Regions from separate parts of the Homo sapiens genome. Here all the other regions are linked to region 2. Evidence: promoter capture Hi-C in 16 types of primary human blood cells and fetal thymus (Javierre and others, 2016). All regions are on one chromosome and are shown on one strand. The core of a region is centred on a gene start or on the middle of the fragment in contact, and the rest is flanking DNA. Distances in the headings are between cores, read along the strand shown.

The links. The method cuts DNA at HindIII sites, captures the fragments that hold promoters and counts their contacts. A CHiCAGO score of 5 or more calls a contact.
Region 1: a contact is called between a fragment that was not itself captured here and the fragment with the promoter of SMNDC1 in region 2, in 4 of 17 cell types (neutrophils, monocytes, activated CD4 T cells and 1 more). The highest score is 12.1, in neutrophils.
Region 3: a contact is called between a fragment that was not itself captured here and the fragment with the promoter of SMNDC1 in region 2, in 14 of 17 cell types (neutrophils, M2 macrophages, total CD8 T cells and 11 more). The highest score is 18.6, in neutrophils.
Region 4: a fragment that was not itself captured here is called in contact with the fragment with the promoter of SMNDC1 in region 2 in 16 of 17 cell types (neutrophils, naive CD4 T cells, total CD8 T cells and 13 more); the score reaches 23.0 in neutrophils.
Region 5: a contact is called between a fragment that was not itself captured here and the fragment with the promoter of SMNDC1 in region 2, in 1 of 17 cell types (neutrophils). The highest score is 5.0, in neutrophils.
Region 6: a fragment that was not itself captured here is called in contact with the fragment with the promoter of SMNDC1 in region 2 in 3 of 17 cell types (activated CD4 T cells, total B cells and naive B cells); the score reaches 7.0 in activated CD4 T cells.
Region 7: a contact is called between a fragment that was not itself captured here and the fragment with the promoter of SMNDC1 in region 2, in 2 of 17 cell types (neutrophils and monocytes). The highest score is 8.3, in neutrophils.

What each region holds. Positions count from the first base shown.
Region 1 is chr10:110,160,145-110,163,544 of GRCh38, forward strand. No RefSeq gene overlaps it. Among named protein-coding and RNA genes, the nearest start is that of MXI1, 46 kb to the right of the region's middle. The HindIII fragment of the contact is 3,194 bases long and covers 476-3,400 here.
Region 2 is chr10:110,303,196-110,306,334 of GRCh38, forward strand. It overlaps SMNDC1 (survival motor neuron domain containing 1), which reads right to left and starts at 1,725. Exons shown (of 6, transcript NM_005871.4): 1 at 1,553-1,725; 2 at 273-392. The coding sequence starts at 392. RefSeq lists a silencer at 1,237-1,556. The HindIII fragment of the contact is 6,895 bases long and covers 1-3,139 here.
Region 3 is chr10:110,118,647-110,121,676 of GRCh38, forward strand. It overlaps ADD3 (adducin 3), which reads left to right. Exons shown (of 15, transcript NM_016824.5): 6 at 1-90; 7 at 565-708; 8 at 820-918. Among named protein-coding and RNA genes, the nearest start is that of MXI1, 87 kb to the right of the region's middle. The HindIII fragment of the contact is 2,697 bases long and covers 333-3,029 here.
Region 4 is chr10:110,140,436-110,143,402 of GRCh38, forward strand. No RefSeq gene overlaps it. Among named protein-coding and RNA genes, the nearest start is that of MXI1, 66 kb to the right of the region's middle. The HindIII fragment of the contact is 5,462 bases long and covers 1-2,967 here.
Region 5 is chr10:110,090,794-110,093,936 of GRCh38, forward strand. The region is part of intron 1 of ADD3 (adducin 3); the gene reads left to right. Among named protein-coding and RNA genes, the nearest start is that of ADD3-AS1, 84 kb to the left of the region's middle. The HindIII fragment of the contact is 5,983 bases long and covers 1-3,143 here.
Region 6 is chr10:110,474,325-110,477,394 of GRCh38, forward strand. It overlaps DUSP5-DT (DUSP5 divergent transcript), which reads right to left. Exons shown (of 2, transcript NR_187547.1): 2 at 18-902. Among named protein-coding and RNA genes, the nearest start is that of DUSP5-DT, 21 kb to the right of the region's middle. The HindIII fragment of the contact is 7,252 bases long and covers 1-3,070 here.
Region 7 is chr10:110,057,328-110,060,624 of GRCh38, forward strand. All of the region lies in intron 1 of ADD3 (adducin 3), which reads left to right. Among named protein-coding and RNA genes, the nearest start is that of ADD3-AS1, 51 kb to the left of the region's middle. RefSeq lists enhancers at 2,639-2,698, 2,749-2,858. The HindIII fragment of the contact is 2,463 bases long and covers 376-2,838 here.

The DNA.
Region 1 (3,400 bases), core at 823-3,322, 140 kb before region 2:
GTGTTCAGTAAACATTAGCTCTTCTTGTTTTGAGCCAGCCATGTTCTAGATCTGTGCTGTCCAATACAGTAGAGAATAGCACTTAAAATGTAGCTACTCCCCACCGCCACCCCCCTCCAAAAATGTAGCTACTCTGAATTAAGATATGCTAAAAGGACCAGGCACAGTGGCTCACGCCTATAATCCCAGCACTTTGAGAGGCTGAGGCGGGTGGATCAATTGAGGTCAGGAGTTTGAGATATGCTGAAAGTATAAAACACACATCAGATTTCAAAGGCTTAGTATGCAAAGTAAAAATCTCGTTAATATTTTATAATAATTACATGCTGAAATATTTTTGATATATTGGGTTAAATAAAATTTATTTGTAAAATTAATTTTACCATTTACTCTTATGTTTTAAAATTGTGGCTACTAGAAAACTTAAAATTGCATAGTTAACAACTAACATCATAATTAATGGTAAAAGACTGAAAGCTTTCCCCTAAGATCATGAACAAGACAAGGGTGTCTCCTCTTCTTGTCAGTTCTATTCAACATTGTGCTGGAGGGGCTAGCCAGGGAAATTAGGCAAGAAAGTGAAATAAAAGGCCAGTTTGGAAAAGAAGAAGTAAAACTATCTCTGTTGACAAATAATCTTTTATATAGAAAATACTAAGATATCTACCCCCAAGCACCAGGCTATTAGAGCTAATAAACAAGTTCAGTAATATTTCAAAATATAAGATCTGCATATAAAAATTAATTCTATATCCATATGCTAGCAATTAAAGTTTCAAAAATAGAATTTAGAAAACTATTTCACATCTAGTAGTATCAAAAGGAATAAAGTACCTAAGCATAAATTTAACAGAAGTACAAGATGTGTACATTCAAAACTGTAAAATATTGTTGAAGGAAATTGAAGAAGACCTAAATAAATGGAACAACAACACATAGTTGTGAATTGGAAGGCTTAATATTGCTAAGATGGCAATATTCCCAAAATTGATATAACAGATTCAATGCAATCCTATCAAAATTCCAACTGACTTCTTTGTAGAAGTTGATAAGCTGATCAAATGAATGTGGAATGCTTGTAAAATGCATGTGAAAGCGCAAGGAACCCAGAATAGCCAAAACAATTTTGAATAGAAAAATAGAAGATTCATACTTCTCAATTTTAAAACGTACTACAAAGCTACAGTAATTAAGACAGTGTGGTACTTGTCTAAAGATATAGACATAGAGATCAATGGAATAGAAATGAGGGACCAGAAATAACTCTCACAGTTGTGGTCAATTGATTTTCTTTTTTTTTTTTCCCTTAAAAACAGTGTCTCACTATGTTGTCCAGGCTGGTCTCAATCTCCCGGGCTCAAGCGATCCTCCCACCTCGGCCTCCCAAAGTGCTGGGATTTATAGGCGTGAACCACCATGCCCAACTGTCAATCAGTTATCAACCAGGATGCCAGGACCATTCAATGGTGAAAATAAGAGTCTTTTCAACAAATGGTGCTGGTGCAAATGGAGATTGACATGCAAAGACAGGTCAGGACTACACTTCGTGTTTCCTGTGTCCGGTGTCAATGTGTGAAGCTGCCTTGGATTAAACATCCAACGAGAAAGGAAAAACCCTCGTCTCCTCTTCCTGGGATCCCAGCCGCCAGAGCAGGGGCACCAGGCAGTACTCAGCACCACCTAAAGAAGTGCCTGTGCTTTGACCCGGCAATTCCACTTCTAGAACTTTACCCTACATACACACGCACACATGTGCACCACGACTTAAGTACGTGGTTATCTGCCGCAGCACTGTTCATAACAAAAAACTCTGGAGGTAATCTGTGTTCATCAGTGGGGGCCTAATTATGCTGCATCCATAAAGGACCATAATTTATATAGCAGTAAAAAAGAATGAGAAAGCTCTGTGTGTACTAATAAGGAATGATCTCTAAGATCCATCATTAAGTTAAAAAATAAGGTGCAGAGGCCAGGCTCAGTGGCTCACACCTGTCATCCCAGCATTTTGGGAGGCTGAGATGGGTGGATCATGAGGTCAGGAGTTCAAGACCTGCCTGGCCAATATGGTGAAACCCCGTCTCTACTTAAAAATACAAAAATTAGCTGGGTGTGGTGGTGCGCGCCTGTAGTCCAGCTGCTCAGGAGGCTGAGGCAGGAAAATCTCCAAACCCGGGAGGCGGAGGTTGCAGTGAGCGGAGATTGCACCACTGCACTCCAGCCTGGGCGACAGAACGAGACCCTGTCTCAAAAAAATAAATAAATAAATAAAAATAAGGTGCAGACAGTGTTCAAAGTATGTTAATTTGTTTATCGTGTGCGCTCATGTGTGTGTGTGTGTGTGTGTGTGTGTGTGTGTGTGTAGGGAAAAGGAGTGTTTGCATAGATACTAGATACTAGTACATTTGGTTGACTCCAGGGAGAAACTGGGTGATTTGGCAAGGGATAGGAGAGAAATGTTTATCGTACATCCCCATGTCTCTTTTGTATCCAGAGAAATAAATGCATATTCAAAAAAAATTAATAAAAGAAACCAGCAGAGTTGTTTCACAAACTTGAATACATGTTCTTCAGCCAAGTTTGACCTGAGCTACAACAGGAACTGGAAGTCACGGGTGGCTATTTTTCCTGCAGAATTACTGTGTGAGTTACTTTACCTCTGTTCAGAAGCGGAAGTGTGGGGATGATCAGTTCCCATTCCTTTCTTGCCCCCAGGGAGGTTGAGGAACTAAAGATTCTTCAGGCTGAGCTTTGAACTCCTGGGATACTCGGCACCCTGGAGGTGATGCAGAGGGCAGCTGTTGGTGCCCACACCCTTCTGCTGTTCTTGCATGCAGCTCAGTGGGGAGGCGTTTCCTCGTGCCATCAGGAAAGTGGCCCCTTAGGATCAATGGCACTGCCCAAGGGCTCCCCCATGTGATGGTGAGGGAGGAAGCCTGGCTCTGGCCCGGCTCTGGCCAACTCTGGCCCCAAGTTGATGTGGGAGATCAGACAGGTAAGTGAACTGTCTGTTCCAACAGTCCTCCCACAGAGCATCCCTCTTCCTAACCTCACAGGGACACCGGTGGGTGAGGATTCGCAAAGGAGAATGTGAAGCAATCAGGCTCTGACTGGTTTCTGGGGAACACCAAACTTCCCATGAGGAAGTAAGTGGCTTACTCCCCAAACTGACTCTCTGGTCAAAAAAAAAAAAAAAGAAAAGTCTGGGAAAGGCAGGATTAACAGAGTTAACCAGGTACCTTCACTGCAGACCTTCTCGGAGCCTTAAATATGCTAAAAGCACTGGGACATGTCAGATGTGGCTATCCCGTGTATCCTTTCCCAAACTTGTTTGACCGCAGAAGCACTTTGGAGCAAAACACCTATTAAACTCTCCTGGAATAAAGGCAACCCATGGAGCACA
Region 2 (3,139 bases), core at 475-2,974:
AATCTGACAGACTTGGAAATTTCTATCAACTTTAGTTTTTAAAAATTATGTAAGCACACAAGATTTATATAACAAAGAACAATATTTCACTCTGATGTACAGAAACCTGAGAACTGGGGAAGCAACCCTACTTCTACAAGCAATGGTACCTACAGAATTTACATATATACATAGGGTGGGGTGTAACCCCTCAAAAGGCGCTTTGGGTACTTAGGGATTCAAGCAATAATTTGAAAAACAGAGAAAAAGTACAATTGTCTACCCATACTTACTTGTAAATCTTTCTTCAATTTTAGCAAATCTTCATTTTCTCCATTTCCAGATAATGCAGCTTCAACTTGCTGGAGCTGAGCTTTGTAGCTTGCCAGCTGCTTTGCTAAATCCTCTGACATCTAGGGAAAATAAAAAGGGTTAGACCATGAAAACTAAACCAAAAATCAAGGCATAAAAAACTAACTCCCCTGTCTGCCTGAATTACCAGTTTTTGCCTCTAACTCCTTCTAACACTGCAGCTTAATTTACCACCATTACCTTTACTCTCAGTTTAGACTTCAGCTAAACCACAAACTTAAAGGCAACAGATTCTGAGGATTATAAACTTGAGATACATTCCATACTTTAAAAAAGCATACAGATACAAAGAAATTTCTAATTTTCTTTTAACTCCTATCCACAGGGTAGGTGCTGAATTCGGCTCAATAATCAGTGTTATCTTTTTAAAAAGCACTACTCTGTTGGAAAAGTCGAAACTTTCAAAAACAATCCAAATACTTATTTTTAAGCACTACAGTATGCTTCCAAAGCCAAACAAGTGCGTTTTTAAATTAACTACACAAACTACGATCTTTACTTGAACTATTCAATTAAGAGTGTATTTAAAAGTGCCTCTCCAAAACAAAAATCTTTCGCCCAGTCGCTTAAATATTTATCGGTGCATTATCTTCAGCAAAAAGAACAGCACAGGTACTCTCCCATTTAGGCATTCTAACGAATGTGCCTTTCGCCAAATCCAGCTCAGTCATTTTCCTGAAAATAAGATACCAATTAACCTTTTTTGATGGTTTATAAGCAAATGTACCACGTTTCCGAGGACCCTTCTCCTTCGTAAAATTCCCGTCCAACCAAAGGCTGGGAGCCTGCAAAGGCCCCCTAAGAGTTACAGCGACCCAGGCTGCTCTCCTCCCCGCCACGCAGCACCTCAAAGCCCGCCACAACTCGATCATTCGGACGTGGAAATCCACACGCCAGCTCCAAGACCACCGCCGGAGCCCCGCCGCGCTCCAACAGGCAGGCTCCACAGGGAGCCGCGCGGCGCCCAGCCCCACCCGACCCGGTCCCCTGCGGGCCGTGTTTGCCGCCGCCGCACGGAGGCCAGCGCCGGCCGGGCCGCCGAGGCTCAGCTCTGGCTGAGAGACGGCCGTGGCTCCGGGATCCAGGGCCAGCGCCTGGGCGTCTCCGGCGAGGCGGGCTCCTCAGCCTTGGGCCTCCGCTTCACCTCGGGAGGGACCCGGGCCCGGCCAGGCCTTACTCTCTCCCTCAGGGGGGTTGTTACCTTGTGTGGGGCTGGGGGCGGGGCGGCGGGAAGGGGTCGGGGCAAATGAGCCCAGTGGTAGTGGCGGTGGCAGCAGCAGCAGTAGCAGTAGCAGGAAAATCACCGCGACGACAGCAAGGCGACCCGGTCTGAAAAGGAAGAACTCGGTCGGCGGCGAGGGGGAAGGGAGGAACGCCGGGCACTGGAAGGAGGAAAAGACAGAGACGGTGAAGTCTCGCGAGAAATACAAACTCTCGCGCGAGGTCGCTCGACTCACGTGACTCCGCGCGCCCTCTAGCCAGTCCCTGGCTGTCAGGGACACGAAGTAGGCGGGGCCTAGGAAGGAAATGGCGTAGCTGGGCTTCGCCAGGCGCGGAATGCAGGTTATCTTCCTGGAGTTCCGGCTTGGAATTTATTGGAAATGCAAATTCTCAAGCCCCACCCCAGACCTCCTGAATCCAGAGACTCTTGTTTTAATAAGCTCACCAGATGATACCAATGTCCGCTGACGTTTGAGAACCACTGCTTTTCCGGGGCGGTGGTGGTGGGTGGCGGGGGGTGTTGGTGGGGGCTCTCTTTACGTTGCCCTGGCTGGTCTCCAGCTCCTGGGCTCAAGCTATCCTCCTGCATCGGCATCCCAAAATGCTAGGATTACAGGCGTGAGCCACCGCGCCCAGCCTGAGAACCACTACTTTATATGATACAAGCCTTAGTAGTAACAGAAAGCTAATTAAATCGTGACAGAAATAACCTATTGGAGAGAAGATTGATTTCTTTAAAATCTGTTTTGTTAAAACCTACTTGGTTTTAATTTAGTTGGGTTAATCTCGCCTGATAGGGAACAACGTCCAAGTTAGTCTAGAATGGTAAAGAGTGGTAGGAATACTCACATTTGTGTTCAAAAAGAAATGCCCCTTGTGTATGTTTGTAATAATATATACGCTTTCTGGACGGATACACAAAACTGTTCAGAGGTTTGGAGTGGAAGCCAAATGTTTTATTGATTACCCTCTTTGCTGTTTACCCTTTTTCCTTTTCTTTTTTTTTTAAACCATATATATATAATTTATTTCAATTAAAAAAGCAATAAAGGCCTGAGACACAAAGTTTTATATAGATGACAGGAAGCAACCTTTCCTGGGAGGTTGGGAGTTTGTTGCTGGATCCATAAAAAGGCCCACTTCTCGCGGATCACCTGAGGTCAGGAGTTCGAGACCAGCTCGACCACGTGGAGAAACCCCGTCTCTACTAAAAATACAAAAAAAAAAAACCAACAACAACAACAACAACAAAAAGCCGAGCATGTTGGTGCATTCCTGTAATCCCAGCTGCTCGGGTGGCTGAGGCAGGAGAATCGCTTGAACCTGGAGGCGGCGGTTGCGGTGAGCCGAGATCGTGCCATTGCACTCCAGCCTGGGCAGCAAGAGTGAAACTCCGTCTCAAAAAAAAAAAAAAAGGCCCACTTCTCAGATGGGCTCTTTTGAACTGTGCCAACATCTTTAGTTCCTAGTTTTCTTTTCAAGGAGCCTTCCCTTTTGTTCTCTACACACACACACATAACCCTTGCAGTGAGTCAGATAACCTGTATAGATGGAAACTAGGTCGGGT
Region 3 (3,030 bases), core at 431-2,930, 180 kb before region 2:
CATACAGGATTCAGTCCCCATGCTGCAATCTATTCAACACGTCCTGATGTTAAGTGTGTGATACACATCCATACCCTTGCAACAGCAGCTGTAAGTCAATGAAAGTCCAAAACTGACAGGACGCTGGAAGATGTATTATTTTTGTGGCTTTCTCAACAGGATGCTTTACTATCTGCTTTTCAAAATCATATTTGATACAATAATCTGCATACCCAGAAAGCAAAAGGCCTTTGGGACCAAATGCTACCATTCTAGGAAACAACTGGAGAAATAACATTTGGATTCTAAAACTAACCAGTTTGAAAATTGGGTCATTGAGTTTTTTGGAGCAAAGCTTCTTTCATAATATTTGACACAGCATATAAGTTGAGTTGTATTCCCTAAGTCCTTTTTGTGTGTGTGTGGAAGAAACAAAATGGGAAGTGAATAAAGTGGGAAGTGGGCTGCAATGGTGAAACACAGTGAATAGGCCAGTGTTTTCCTGAGCTGACCAAACAATCAGGTTCCTATGAAAATGTATTTAGTAACCAAATGTGTTATCTTGGTATGGGCCAAACCAAATAGGTATCCTCCATGAAATGTGGGATCCTTCCAATTTCTCAAGAGTCTCTTCTTCTGGGAGATGTTGCCTATTATGACTACCAAGGGTCACTTGAAGAACAGGAGGAGAGAATTCAACTGCAGAAGGTTCTGGGACCAAGTTGTAAGGTATGTAGTAGAGTTTGTCTAAGGAGCTATTTTTGTTGCTGCTGCTGTTGATGAAAACAGTGTGAGCTATGCCAGTTATTTCAAGTGATTGCTGTGGGCATTCTATTTTAGGTGCTGGTACTCAGGAATCATGGTGTGGTTGCACTTGGAGAAACATTAGAGGAGGCTTTTCATTATATTTTTAATGTGCAACTAGCCTGTGAGATTCAGGTAGGAAACATTATTCCCCTTTTTTAATTGCTTTGTTATTTGCTCGTTTAGTTGGATTTTGTGTACTTATTTGCAAATACATATTAGTTAGTGGCTTTTTGTCTTTTAAGAGAAGTTCTGCTCTACTTATGTAGGCAGGGTTTTCAACTCAGTTATCTCTTGAATTGAAAATAGGAGTAAAGGAAATTAAAATTTTCTCACACACAATCTAAGGGCCTCATAAACATCATTTTCCCTACAATCCTGCTTTTTAAGTTAGTACAATTGCATATTTCTGTTTTCACCCTGTAGTGGTGGTACTAATTAAGGAAGAAAAACAGCTGCAAATCAAGAATCAAATGTGTTGTGGTCACTTTTGTAAAAAGTTTGACTAGGTCCAGAAGTTATATGAAATTGCAGTTTTCAACAATTCCACAGCCTCATTATGATGAGAGGTTGGATATTTATTAATCATTTTTTTCATCAGAGATGTTGAATGTATTTAAAGGCCCTAATTTTCTTTTTCTTTTTCTTTTTTTTTTAATTATACTTTAAGTTTTAGGGTACATGTGCACATTGTGCAGGTTAGTTACATATGTATACATGTGCCATGCTGGTGCGCTGCACCCACCAACTCGTCATCTAGCATTAGGTATATCTCCCAATGCTATCCCTCCCCCCTCCCCCCACCCCACCACAGTCCCCAGAGTGTGATATTCCCCTTCCTGTGTCCATGTGATCTCATTGTTCAATTCCCACCTATGAGTGAGAATATGCGGTGTTTGGTTTTTTGTTCTTGTGATAGTTTACTGAGAATGATGATTTCCAATTTCATCCATGTCCCTACAAAGGACATGAACTCATCATTTTTTATGGCTGCATAGTATTCTATGGTGTATATGTGCCACATTTTCTTAATCCAGTCTATCATTGTTGGACATTTGGTTGGTTCCAAGTCTTTGCTATTGTGAATAATGCCGCAATAAACATACGTGTGCATGTGTCTTTATAGCAGCATGATTTATAGTCCTTTGGGTATATACCCAGTAATGGAATGGCTGGGTCAAATGGTATTTCTAGTTCAAGATCCCTGAGGAATCGCCACACTGACTTCCACAATGGTTGAACTAGAGAGCCCGCATCGCCAAGTCAATCCTAAGCCAAAAGAACAAAGCTGGAGGCATCACACTACCTGACTTCAAACTATACTACAAGGCTACAGTAACCAAAACAGCATGGTACTGGTATCAAAACAGAGATATAGATAAATGGAACAGAACGGAGCCCTCAGAAATAACGCCACATACCTACGACTAGCTGATCTTTGACAAACCTGAGAAAAACAAGCAATGGGGAAAGGATTCCCTATTTAATAAATGGTGCTGGGAAAACTGGCTAGCCATATGTAGAAAGCTGAAACTGGATCCCTTCCTTACACCTTATACAAAAATCAATTCAAGATGGATTAAAGATTTAAACGTTAGACCTAAAACCATAAAAACCTTAGAAGAAAACCTAGGCATTACCATTCAGGACATAGGCATGGGCAAGGACTTCATGTCCAAAACACCAAAAGCAATGGCAACAAAAGACAAAATTGACAAATGGGATCTAATTAAACTAAAGGCCCTAATTTTCTCTTTAAATCAAGCAGATTTGGCCAGGCACGGTAGCTCATGCCTGTAATCCCAGCACTTTGGGAGGCTGAGCTGGGTAGATCACCTGAGGTCAGGAGTTCGAGACCAGCCTGACCAACATGGAGAAACCCCGTCTGTACTAAAAATACAAAATTAACAGGGCGTGGTGTCATGTGCCTGTAATCCCAGCTACTTGGGAGGCTGAGGCGGGAGAATCGCTTGAACCCGGGAGGCGAAGTTTGCAGTGAGCCGATATCGTGCCATTGCACTCCAGCCTGGGCAACAAGAGTGAAACTCAGTCCTCAATAAATAAATAAATAAATAAAGCAAATTCTCATGAAGCAAATGGTAATAATCTTAATTTATTGGAAGGGCCACAAGAAAGGGGGAAAAGAACAACTAAAAAAAAACTTTTTCTACCAACATTAACTTGTCCTAACAATCAACTTATTTTTGCTTTAATGGTTCCTCCTCTTCTCAAATGGGGCTATGAAAA
Region 4 (2,967 bases), core at 81-2,580, 160 kb before region 2:
TTATTATTATTTTTTTCTTTGAGACAGTCTCACTCTGTCGCGCCCAGGCTGGAGTGCAGTGGCATGATCTCGGCTCACTGCAACCTCCGCTTCCCAGGTTCAAGCAATTCTCCCGCCTGTCTCCCAAGTAGCTGGGATTACAGTTGCCCACCACCACGCCCAGTTAATTTTTTGTATTTTTAGTAGAGACAAGTTTTCACCGTATTGGCCAGGCTGGTCTGGAACTCCTGGCAGTTGATCCACCTGCTTTGGCCTCCCAAAGTGCTGGAATTACAGGCATGAGCCACTGCACCCAGCAAAATGCAGGCCTTAAGAGGCAGACTCAGCCGGGCCCAAGTAATCCCAGCACATTGGGAGGCCGAGGCGGGCGGATCACGAAGTCAGGGAATTGAGACCATCCTGGCCAGCATGGTGAAACCCCCTCTCTACTAAAGATACAAAAATTAGCTGGGCATGGTGGTGCACGCCTGTAGTCCCAGCTACTCGGGAGGCTGAGGCAGGAGAATCGCTTGAACCTGGGAGGCAGAGGTTGCAGTGAGCCGAGACTGTGCCACTGCACTCCAGCCTGGCAACAGAGCGAGACTCCATCTCAAAAAAAGGGCAGGCTCTTTTGGATTTCCCTCTGGTACTCCTGACTTATCTTTTCTGGGTTTATAAAACAAATATAGTGACAGTCCCCAGCCTGGACCTGGAGCTACAGTTCTGCTAGACTCTTCTCAATGGTTTTCTGGCTGTGTTCTGTCCTTCCTTGAAGACCATTTTCTTTCATAGACAGTCAAGATCTAAACTAATTGTTTTTTTTTTTTTTTCCAAAAGCAATAGCTTCTGAAGATTTTCACTAAGCAGGAGCTAGGGAGGAAGTAGTTGTTGCGTGCTATAACTCACCCCTTTCCTGTTGAGTAATGCTGTAGAGGTTGGATTCAGTGGCAACTGGCTTGCTAGACTTTGACTTCAGAGTAGATGAGCTCCTAGTTTTATGAGAGAACATGTAGATACAGCCAGCTTGTTGGCATGCACAGGCAGTCTCTTCCAAAGGTGTTTGCTGGACTAAGGAGTTAAAGTTCAACATTTCTTCCTACCTGATTTCTGTTTTGGAAATGTTGGCTTCAATTGTTTCAACTGAAATAAAGGTCATTTGAGGCTATTAGGATAACCAAGACTGTATCCCAAATATTATCTACTGGTCCACATCGCGGGGAGGGGTAAGACTCACTGCACCCGGATGTTTGGGTATCTTAAGCCTTTTAAATTATTTAATTTAAAATATCCTGTGTGGTAATTGAGATGTTTTGTTTTTAAATTATTTTTAAAATAGTGTTTTACTTTAGAACATATTTTCAAAATATGAAATTTTTTGATATGTAGGTATGGTCGTGTGTCTCCATTTTGACCTTTAAGTTAATATTGAGCAAGGGTATATGCACATGTACTTGCCAAAGCCAAGCTGAGCATGGGTCAATTAACTGCAGAGGAACAGGGCAGGCTGGGTGGGGCAAGCTCAGGAATTCTACCCACTCACTGAGCAAAGTCAGGCACTGGGGGAACAGCTTGAGCTGGAGAGCTAGTAGGAAGCCCAGCCCAGCCAGTGAAACATGGAGCCTCGAGAACATAGCCATCGGCCAAAAGCGTAGTCTGGTAAATGGTCTGCATCAGGGAAGTGGGAGTCCCAGTCAGGATTCTGGAGTAAGAAAGCAGGATGGCAGAAGCCCAGTAGCATGTGTAGGAGTGCCAGCCACAGGCTTAGCTCTAAGAGCAGCGCTTCCTCTACTTCCTGTGGGGTAATGGCAAGATCATGGCAGGACCTCAGGCTTAAGGGGCCTGGGTATAGTTAGCAGTTCCTCAAGACAGGAACTCGGATAGAAGGAAAATGACAGATGGGAATCCTGTTATCAGAACTGAGGTACACAATACTGCTCAGAATTCCAGAAGCCAGGCAGTGCTCAGAGCCAAGACAAGGTCAGGACTGGCCTGGGGACAGGCTTGGCTTGGTGCCCAGTGAGTCCCAGAGCCAGGAGCTAGAGCTACCTCAGTTCCGCTGGCCTCATTAGGACTAGTCCTGGACACCACAGCCAGGTAAGTCGGTCAAGTGGCCCTAGTCGTTGTGGGAGAGGCACACTGCAGAGACAGGGAAGGGCCCTGACATGGCTTTCACAATGGAAGCAACCCTGTGTGATAACAAGACAGCCACGTAAGAGTGGCTGCAGGAATGAGTTAATATTTCACACCAGAACCTACCTGAGGACTAGCAAAGATGAATAAGCAAAGGCCAAGTGCTACTGAAACACTCGCTGTGAAGATGGCCCCATGTTTCCTGTGAACTAATTTTCCAATCGGGAGGCAGTTTCACTATAGAAAAATTTAGCTCCAGTGATGTCTCTGCCCTTCCCCGCCCCCAACCCCGCCACCCTCTTACCAGGAGTCACTATAAGATGCACCTCAAGAACACTAATTGAATAGAAGAGAATCGAAGACAGTGGTCTGTGTTTCCTCCTCCTATAAAAAATGAGGCTATGATTTTATGCTGGCAAAACACCTTCGATTCCACATGGCGTCCTCCATAACCCTCTGGTTGTGGCAATAGCCGTTTGCCACTGAGTCAGAGGCCTCTCTGATTTGTCTTGCCACATCCACCCAAATAATGACCTCTCAGTTCACTCCTCCAACCTGCTTCCGGAGAGAATGGCTTCCTTAGGACCGTACCTGTAGCAGCTCCAATCTGTCATCATCTGGGGGACTCAGGAGCCAGCTGCATGAGTCATCCAGTCCTCTACTCCCACAGTTGTCCATAGAACACCTAGCCCTGCCACCTGGCAAGCCAGCCTTCTTTCCCACCCCATCTTCCCCAACCTGGGTACCCAGCAGAAGACATATACCCTCCCAGTGACCGCCTTAGCTCTCCAAGCACCCTTCTCCACCTGGGCACACTGATAGAGGATGTTTCCTTTCATCAAAATGACTTCTTCCTTT
Region 5 (3,143 bases), core at 134-2,633, 210 kb before region 2:
GTACCGCAGTGGGTTGCTGTTACTATTTTATTTTATTTTGTTATTGTTGTGGGGGTTTTTTCCCTTGACTTTAAGTTGGATTTTAAACTAAGGCTCAGTCCTAACTTTTACTAAACAACTATAGATTTATTATTTCCTGGACTTTATATTGAGGTTTAGAATTTAGTTTTATTTTAAAGATAACAAGTCATTTCAAAAGAACAAAAACGGGGTTCAGGAATTTAAGAATAATACGGATCAATCTGACAATTCCAGCAGTAGGCCAGAGAGGTAGGTAGGTTTCCACATGTGTAGGTTTGATAGCCATGGAAGACTTTGTGCAAATTTTATTGCTACTTTTAGAATATTTACTATTTCCACTTTGGTATTGAGTATTGTGATCATATAATATTTTCATCCCCCCTCCCCCAAATAAAGTCAGTGATCTAATGGCTGGATATATCTTTAGGAAATGATAGTCCTTTGAGCCATCTCATATTTTTTGGCTAACTCCACCATGCCTGTTAAGATCTATAACCATGAGTAATTTCCTTATTTGTGAGAAGAACCTTTGGTAATCTGAGACAAATTTATTAAACCTCAGTTTTTATACTACAAGACTACAGTAACTAAAACAGCCTGGTACTGGTTCAAAAACAGACACATAGACCAATGGAACAGGTTAGAGAACCCAGAAATAAAGCCACACACATACAACCATCTGATCTTTGACAAAGTCAACAATAACAAGCAACGGGGAAAGGATTCCCTATTCAATAAATGGTGCTGGGATAATTGACTAGCCATCATATGCAGAAGATTGAAACTGGACCTTTTCCTTTCACCATATACAAAATTCAACTCAAGATGGATCAAAGACTTACATGTGAGACCTAAAACTATAAACTCTAGGAGAAAACCTGGATTTCACGATGAAGTCTCCAAAAGCAATTGCAAAAAAACAAAAATAAACTAGTATGACATAATTAAAGAGCCTTCTGCACGGCAAAAGAAACTATCAACGTAGAAAACAGACAACCTGCAGAATGGTAGAAAATATTTACAAACTATGCATCCAACAAAGGTGTAATATCCAGAGTTTATGAGGAACTTAACCCAACAGGTAAACAACCCCTTAAGAAAATAGTCTCAAAGGACATGAACATCCACTTCTCAGAAGACATACACACAAGTCAACATGCATATGGAAAAATGCTCAACATCACTAATCATCAGAGAAGTGCAGATCAAAACCACAGGGAGATACCTTCTCATACCAGTCAGGATGACTGTTATTAAAATGTCAGAAAATAACAGATGTTGGCGAGGTTGTGGAGAAAACGGAACACTTATACACTGCTGTCCAGCCACTGTGGAAAGCAGGAGGTTTCTCACAGAATTTAAAACAGAACTACCATTCAACCCAGCAATCCCATTTACTGGGTGTATACCCAAAGGAATATAAATTATTCTACCAAAAAGACACAAGCGCAAATATGTTCATTGCAGCACTATCCACAATAGCAAAGACATGGAATCAATCACCTAGATGTCCATAACAGTGGTCTGAATGAAGAAAATTTGGTACATATATACCTTCGAATACTATGCAACCATAAAAAAAACATGAAATCATGTCCTTTGCAGCAACATGGATGCAGCTGGAGGCTATTACCCTAAGCAAATTAACACAGGAACAGAAAACCAAATACTGCATGTTCTCACCTATAATGGTAACTAAACATTGAATACACATGGACACAAAGGTGGGAACAATAGACACCCGGTCTACTTGAGTGGGGAAGGTAGCAGGAGGGTGAAGGCGGAAAAACTGCCTATCAGGTCCTCTGCTCACTTACTTGGCTTATGAAATCATTTGTACTCCAAACCCCAATGCCGTACAATTTACCTATGTAACAGACCTGCACATGTACCCCCTGAACCTAACATAAAAGGGGTGGGGAAACATTATGTTGTATACTTTAAATAAATATAATTTTATTTTTTAAACTGAAAAAAAAAACCCCTCAGTTTTCTTATCTATAAAGTTGGGGATACTGGTCGCCTTTTCATAGAGTTGTGAAGGATTTTTCTTGGAGGCTGGAGAGACAGAGTCTCACTCTGTCACCCATGCTGGAGTGCAGTGGTGCAATCTTGGCTTATTGCAACCTCCACCTCCTGGGTTCAAGCAATTCTCTTGCCCCAGCCTCTGAGTAGCTAGGATTACAGACACATGCCACCATGCCCAGCTAATTTTTACATTTTTAGTAGAGATGGGGTTTCACCATATTTGCCAGGCTGGTCTCCAACTCCTGACCTCAAGTAATCCGCCCACCTTGGCCTCCCAAAGTGCTGGTATTACCAGCGTGAGCCACCACACCTGGCCAGAGTTGTAAAGGATATTAAATGAGAAAATCTGTATAGAGCATAGTACCTGGAATTCTGTGATTGCTTTAAAATGTTTCATTAAATTACTGCTTTTGTAGTTTAGACATGTTTATGTATACATGCATTTCTATTTAGTATCTATATTAGACCAATTTCTATTACCACTTATTTCAGTTGGTGTATTATACTTGTCTTAACTCTTTAGGTCCCAACAGGATATTTTTCTGAGGTTTGTTTTGTTTCATAATACAGCCCTCAACTCTTTTAATATGATGCTAAATTATATTAAAGTGAAACTTAAATACAATTTATTATTACCCAGAGCACAGTCAATGTCATTTTGTTAATAGCTTCTAATTAAGTCATAGTGGTCATCTGTCAGGTAAAGAGTTAAGACTTCCTATATACTGATCAATAGCCAACGTAGTCTCCTTTTCAGATGGACTTGAGTCAATTTAGTGGTCCGTACCTTGCATGTAGTTCCTTTTTGTTTGGAACTCAAAGTTGTGTGGAATGTTCCATGACATTTTATTATACCATTTATCTGCCTGCTCATTGAGCTTCTTCATCTGCCCATCTCCTAATACTCTTTGTCTTTATGCATCTTATTTATATGTTTTGCTAAGTACTGATGGCAAAGATACTAAGTGTCTTTATGGTGTGTGGGTGTGTGTGTGTATGTATGAAAAATATATAGTTATGTGAATGTGGTCTTTCCCTGTATCTCAAAATCTTATTGTACTATATTCGCCTATTTTTGAACAGTGGTTGACCAC
Region 6 (3,070 bases), core at 493-2,992, 170 kb after region 2:
AACCCAGACAGTTGGGCTCCAGAGCCTGTCCTCTTAACTTTTACTCAGTGGTGTCTCTCAGTTCATCACAGGCTCACAGCCACCTGTCCCACTGGGAATGTCTGGAACAATCACCTCTCTAGTTTCCATTTGCACCCTTCCAACAAGCAGGTCCAGTCCCCCTTCTGGTGGCCACCTTTTTACTTTGGTTACATGTGATGAAATCTCTTGTGAATATGCAGGTATGTATGTCTCCCCCATAAGTTCAGAGGGCAGGAAGTTATTCGATTCACTTCTGCATCCCTGGAAGCCAGGGCAGGGCCTGGCCCAGACCAACATCAGTTTCTGTGGGTTGCAAGAAGTATATATTCAACCAACCAATACTTCTTGTGCCTACGACCTGCCAGGCCCTTTCTAGGCACTTGGAATTCAGCATTATAAAACCAAGCAAAAATCTCTTCCCTTAAGGAGCTTATATTCTATGGGGGAAACGTATCATATGAAATAATGGTTTCTGCAAGGTCTGCTAGGAAGTAAATGAAACAGATTGTAAGTGTATAGAGAAAGGTAAGAGCGCTGTGGACTGAAGCAGTCAGGGAGGGATTCCTGCAAGATGCTTCACTGGCATTGCCTTCTTTGTTGAAATCGACTACAAAGCCTCTTAAATGATTTTCTCCCTCACTCCCATGGCCAATGCCGAGGCCCTAGTGTATCAGGCACTATTTGTATGTTCACAGCTCCTTGACTAGGGTCAGCAGGGAAGGTGTGGGAGTAGAGAAATGAGCCAGGAGGTGCAGAGAGACAATTAGTAGTGATGTTATTTCAAGCAAAATCCTTGTTCTGGAATTCCGTCCTGATCTGCTTTTCTCATGTTGCATTATCTTAAGCAAATTAATTAATCCTTTGAGCCACAGCATCTGCATCTGTAAAATGAAAAAAAAAAAAAAACTAACAATGAGGTTGGTGTGAAGATTAAATGCATAACTAAGGGAAAGGGGGACAGGTCAATGAATGGAAGGCATTGTTGCTATTTTGGTAAAAAACACTCTCAAATAGTCCTCAGCCAAGAAGAGGGGCATGGCAGAAAGAGCAGCACCCTGGGGACATCTAAAGCTCATTCAAACTTGGTGGATTCCTGGATCTTCAGTTCCCTGCTGGCGTTATTTTTATTTTTTATTTTTTGTTTTTTATTTGAGACAAGGTCTGGCTCTATTGCCCAGGCTCTAGTGCAGTGGTGTAGTCTCAGCTCACTGCAACCTCCAGCTCCCGGGCTCAAGCCATCCTCCCACCTCAGCCTCTCGAGTAGCTGGAACTACAAGCTCACACCACCATGCCCAGCAATTTTTGTATTTTTTGTAAAGACGGGGTTTTGCCATGTTGCCCACGCTGGTCTTGAACTCGTGAGCTCAGGCAATCTGCCTGCCTTGGCCTCCCAAAGTGCTGGGATTAGAGGCATGAGCCACTATGCTGGCCGTCCTGCTGGTGTTATCTTAAAGAAGTAATCTGATCCCTCTGAGCCTCAGTTTACCTATTCACAAATGGGGCTTACAGCTCCCTGCCAGGGTTATTGTAAGGTTTAAAACCACAGATAAAAAGTCTCTAATTTGGTGCTTGTGACTTAGTAGGAGCTAAATAAACATAATAAACATTTCCGTCACTCTCCCATTTTCCTCCCCACCTAGCCTGGAGGCATCTGAGACAGCCTGATGGGAGTGTCCCTCAGAGTGACAGGGTCTTTGGACTTTCACTCAGGGCAGGCCCATCCAGCTCAGGCCCCACCCAAGACCCTTAGGCCAAGCTAAAGATTCTCTACTTAGGAGAGAAAAGCCAGCTGCCAAAGTTTGCCTGTATCCGGCAGAGAGGACAGGAATTAATCACGGGCCCTGCAGCTCACTCTGGGCCCTGAGGTGATTCGAAGCCTCTCAGATTTAAGTTCCAACTGTAGGCTGAATGCTCTCAGGATTCCAGTGCCAGCCTCTACCCTGGGCTCTGGCCAGTACAGCCTGCCTGCTGCCCACCTGTCTTTCCACCTGGACGTCCGTAAGGCCAATGTGTCCATTTCCTATTGCTTCCGTAACAAATGACGACAAACTTAGTGGCTTAAAACCAACCACACAAATGCATGATTTCACAGTTCTGGAGGTAAGAAGTCCTAATTGGGTTTTCTCTGGGCTAAAAGCAAGGTGTCAGCAAGATTGTGTCCCTTCTAGAGTCTCGATGGGAGAAACCATTTCCTTACCTTTCCCAGTTCCTAGAGGATGTCTTAATTCCTCACCTCGGGGTTCCCTTCCTTCACCTTCAAAGCCAGTTCAAAGCAATGGCAGGTTGATTCCTTCTCACATCGAAGCACGCTGACTCTCCTGCCTCCCTTTTACATTTATAAGGCCCCTTGTGTTTACATTGGGTCCTCCAGGATAATCTCCCAACTCAAAATTCTTGACTTAATCAGATTTGCCATGTGAGGTCATATATTCACACGTGCCATCTTTCGAGGACATTATTTGGCCCAGGAGCACACCAGAATGCTCAATCTCACCACCCAAACCTGTTCTTCCTCTACCTTCCCCATCTCAGACAATGACACCCCCATCTACCTAATCCAAACCAGGGCATCCTTCGTGATTCCTCTTTCCCTCATGCCCCACCCCTGCCACATCCACTACATCTGAAGGTCTTGTCTGTCTACATCTCTCAGCTTCCTCTTCTATTATCTTTGTCCAAGACCCCATCACCTGTCACCATGACCATGGCAGTAATTTCCTAACTGGTCTCTGCCTCCACTCTGTCCTCCCTACAGTCCATTCTCCAAGCAGCTGGGGATCTTTCATCATCACCCTGCATAAAACCCTCCACTGATTTCCCACCTCGGTTAGAACCAACTCTAATCTCTTCACCATGGTCTATGAGGAAGGCCCTGCATAATCTGGCCTTGCCAACATCTCCCAGCTCATCTCTGACCTCTCTCTCTTGTCCACTAAGTTCCAGCCATAGCTGCATCTGTGAATCCTCAGACAGGCCACAGTGGTCCTGTCTCAGGACTGGAATGCCCTTTCCCTGATTCAGACACAGCTGGCTCATTTTGATTAATCCG
Region 7 (3,297 bases), core at 357-2,856, 250 kb before region 2:
GTTTTACTGACCAAGAGGTGTTTTTTCAAAGACCCAAGTTGAGAACTAATGCTTTCAAACTCATGGCCTCAATCAGTCCTCCTGCCTGGGTTTCCCAAAGTGCTGGGATTATGGGCTAAGCTACCACTCCTAGCCAGGAACTAATGCTTTAGATCTACTGGTACTCAAACATTATTGTTCTTTGGAGTCACTTGGTGCTTCAAAATTATTGATGTCTAGGTCTCACTGCTGAGATTTTGATTTAAATGGTGTCGGTGCAGTCTGGGTACTGGGATTTTTTTAAAGCTCTTCATCTGATTCTAATTTGCAGTAAAGTTTGAAAACCACTGCTCTAGTCAATAAAACAAAACTAGGCAAAACTCCAGGAAGGCAGGAAGCTTGTTCTCCACTGAGACCCCAGCATGTAAAATGGTAAACAGTAGGCACCCAACAAATATTTTTTGTTGCAATGAAAGAATATACTTTTTAAGAATCACTGTAATTTAAAGAATAAACCAAGCAGTGATTCTTTGAAATAATCCATAGGAGCTAATGATAAGTTAGTGATGAAGTATGGATTCTTTTGTGTATGTATGTAGAAAAGCTGATGCTAGATAATCATTTTCAAAAATTATAGATAAAAATCTTTGCATGAATATCAAGTGGAAATATGCTATCATTTCCCTTATGCATATTTGCATTTAAAATAACCCACAGGGACAAAATGATTTTCCCACTGAAGCTAACTCTTACCATGAAATATTTCTTTGATTTAGTTATTTTCTCCTTTATCTCCTGAAGATTTTTTTTTTTTTTGGCTTGCCATATGCATGCTATTTTGCTTTTCCTTTGTACTTTGGGTTTTTGTGGTGTATTTTTTGAGGAGGGAGATTTCTTTTGCAAATAAAGGCAGCACTCTGTCTCTCCTTTTTTCAGGAAACACCTTTTTTTCTGTGTGATGCAGTCAGTTTTTGTCATTTCCACTTTAACGTGAACTAAGAAGTCATCCTTTTCCTGTGAACAGGAAATTTCCCAGCTGTTGATAAACTGTGGAGCCGCCTGTGAAAAAGGGCAAGATCTCAGAATTCCTTCTCTCGATTCTACATGTTCTTTATTGCTTTCTACATATTGCTGATCTTTTCATTTCTAATGTGTACCATCTGATTGACGAGATGGTGACTTCCTGTTTGAGAGTTAGCTCCATTCTTTGTGTATCATACCCACGGTGATAGTACTTTGTGAGGACTGTGGCAACAGTGCTGTGCTCTCCTCTGATGTAAAGGGTAAGCTGGGAAATCAAGACATTGAAAGGAGTATTAATTTGAAAATAATTCTATAGCATTTTCTTGGGGAAAAAATGCTCACCACCTCCTCTCTTTTCTAAACACACCATTTGAGGATATCACTATTTCCTTTGTATTGAGCCTTTTATGTATGTTGAACTATCATTTGGAATATGATCTGCTGATGTACCTGGGCACCTCTAATCAGCATCTAAGTATCTAGCTCATGATTCTTTTCAGTATCACAAATCCATTCTAAAGTGGAACTGTAGGAAGGATCTGTCATATTACTGTTAAATTATCATTGGTTGCAAAAGTTTTCCCAGTGCCTACAACACTGTCTTCCTTCTTTCCTTGACTCTCATCTTTTAAAATTATAGTTTATAAGTGACATTTAATTTATAAATCACTTAAAAATTACATTAGATCCATTGTGAAGTGCTCTCTTTTCACCTCCATTACCTTGGGCCTGGGTTAGGTGCCTTGTCTGTTAGCTGACACAGGATCCTATGAAAGATAAAGGAAATTCTATTTTTTTAAATTATATGTTGGTACCATGGAAACACTTTCAGAAATGGAAAACTAAAGATCACCCATACAGGCCGGGTACAGTGGCTCATGCCTGTAATCCCAGCACTTTAGGAGGCTGAGGCAGTTGAATCACTTGAAGTCAGGAGTTTGAGGCCTGCCTGGCCAAAATGGTGAAGTCCTGTCTAAACTAAAAATACAAAAATTAGCTGGGCGTGGTGGCGCATGCCTGTAATCCCAGCTACTCAGGAGGCTGACGCAGGAGAATTGCTTGAACCCGGGAGGCAGAGGTTGCAGTGAGCTGAGTGCGCGCTGCTGCACTCCAGCCTGGGTGACAAAGTGAGCAAGACTCTGTCTCATAAATAAATAGGCCGGGTGCAGGTGTCTGTAATCCCAGCACTTGGGGAAGCCAAGGCAGGCAGATCACGAGGTCAGGAGTTCGAGAACAGCCTGGCCACTATCACCATATAGAGACACCCCATCTCTACCAAAAATACAAAAATTAGCCGGGCGTGGTGGCTTGCGCCTGTAGTCCCAGCTACTCGGGAGGCTGAGGCAGAAGGATCGCTTGAACCCAGGAGGCGGAGGTTGCAGTGAGCCAAGATGGTGCCACTGCATTCCAGCCTGGGTGACAGAGCGAGACTCTGTCTCAAAAAAAATAAAAAATAAATAAAGATCATTCATACAAGTATGAATTTCTCAAAGGCCAAAGTTGGTTTTGTCTTTCTTGCTACAACCTGTTTATTCTGAAGAGTACAACCAAACACATTAGTCCCACATGGCTTTTTATTTAGGGACATCATGATGAAAGGTTATTCTGTGGACTCTCAAAGTACTTGTCATCCATAGACTTGCTGACACCTCGTCAAGGCTACTTGAATGGGTGTATTACACAGGCTTGGTCAAAGGGTTAATGCATGCTAGAAATGTGAAGTGAAGGGAATAGAGTTGAGGCTTGGGAACATTTATGTTTTTTAGACTGCGACTTCCTGTTCAGCTGAGAAGATAGTCCTGTAGCTTTGCTGTTAGCTAAGGAGACAGTCTTGTAAGCTTGACAGATCACAGCTGTATCCTGTACTTTGTGTGAAAATGTACTTGCTTTCCCTCCTGTTCATTTCGTTTTTCTAATTTCCTAATATATTAACGTTTATTCCAGTGTTTGATGGAGTAAGAAGTTGGGTATATGCCCACATGAGAATGTGAATAATAGCTAAGTACTAGGTTGTAGGCAGATAGTGGATTAAATATGGAGTGTGTGTGCTGCAAAAACTAAATGACAAGGAAAACCCCCCCTCTGAATAAAATTTTACAAGAAAGTCCCAAAAGCACTTGGATATTTTAGCCTAGTGCTATAATTGAAGCAGTTGTCTTATTTCTTTGCAAATCAGATAATTTCTTTATAAAGAATCAAATGCTTGCTCTGTGTTCTAACCATTCCACCATTTTATTCTCTCTCAAAGCTTGAGGACAACTTCGGGACATTTCTTTCATCTCACTATCCTAAAAA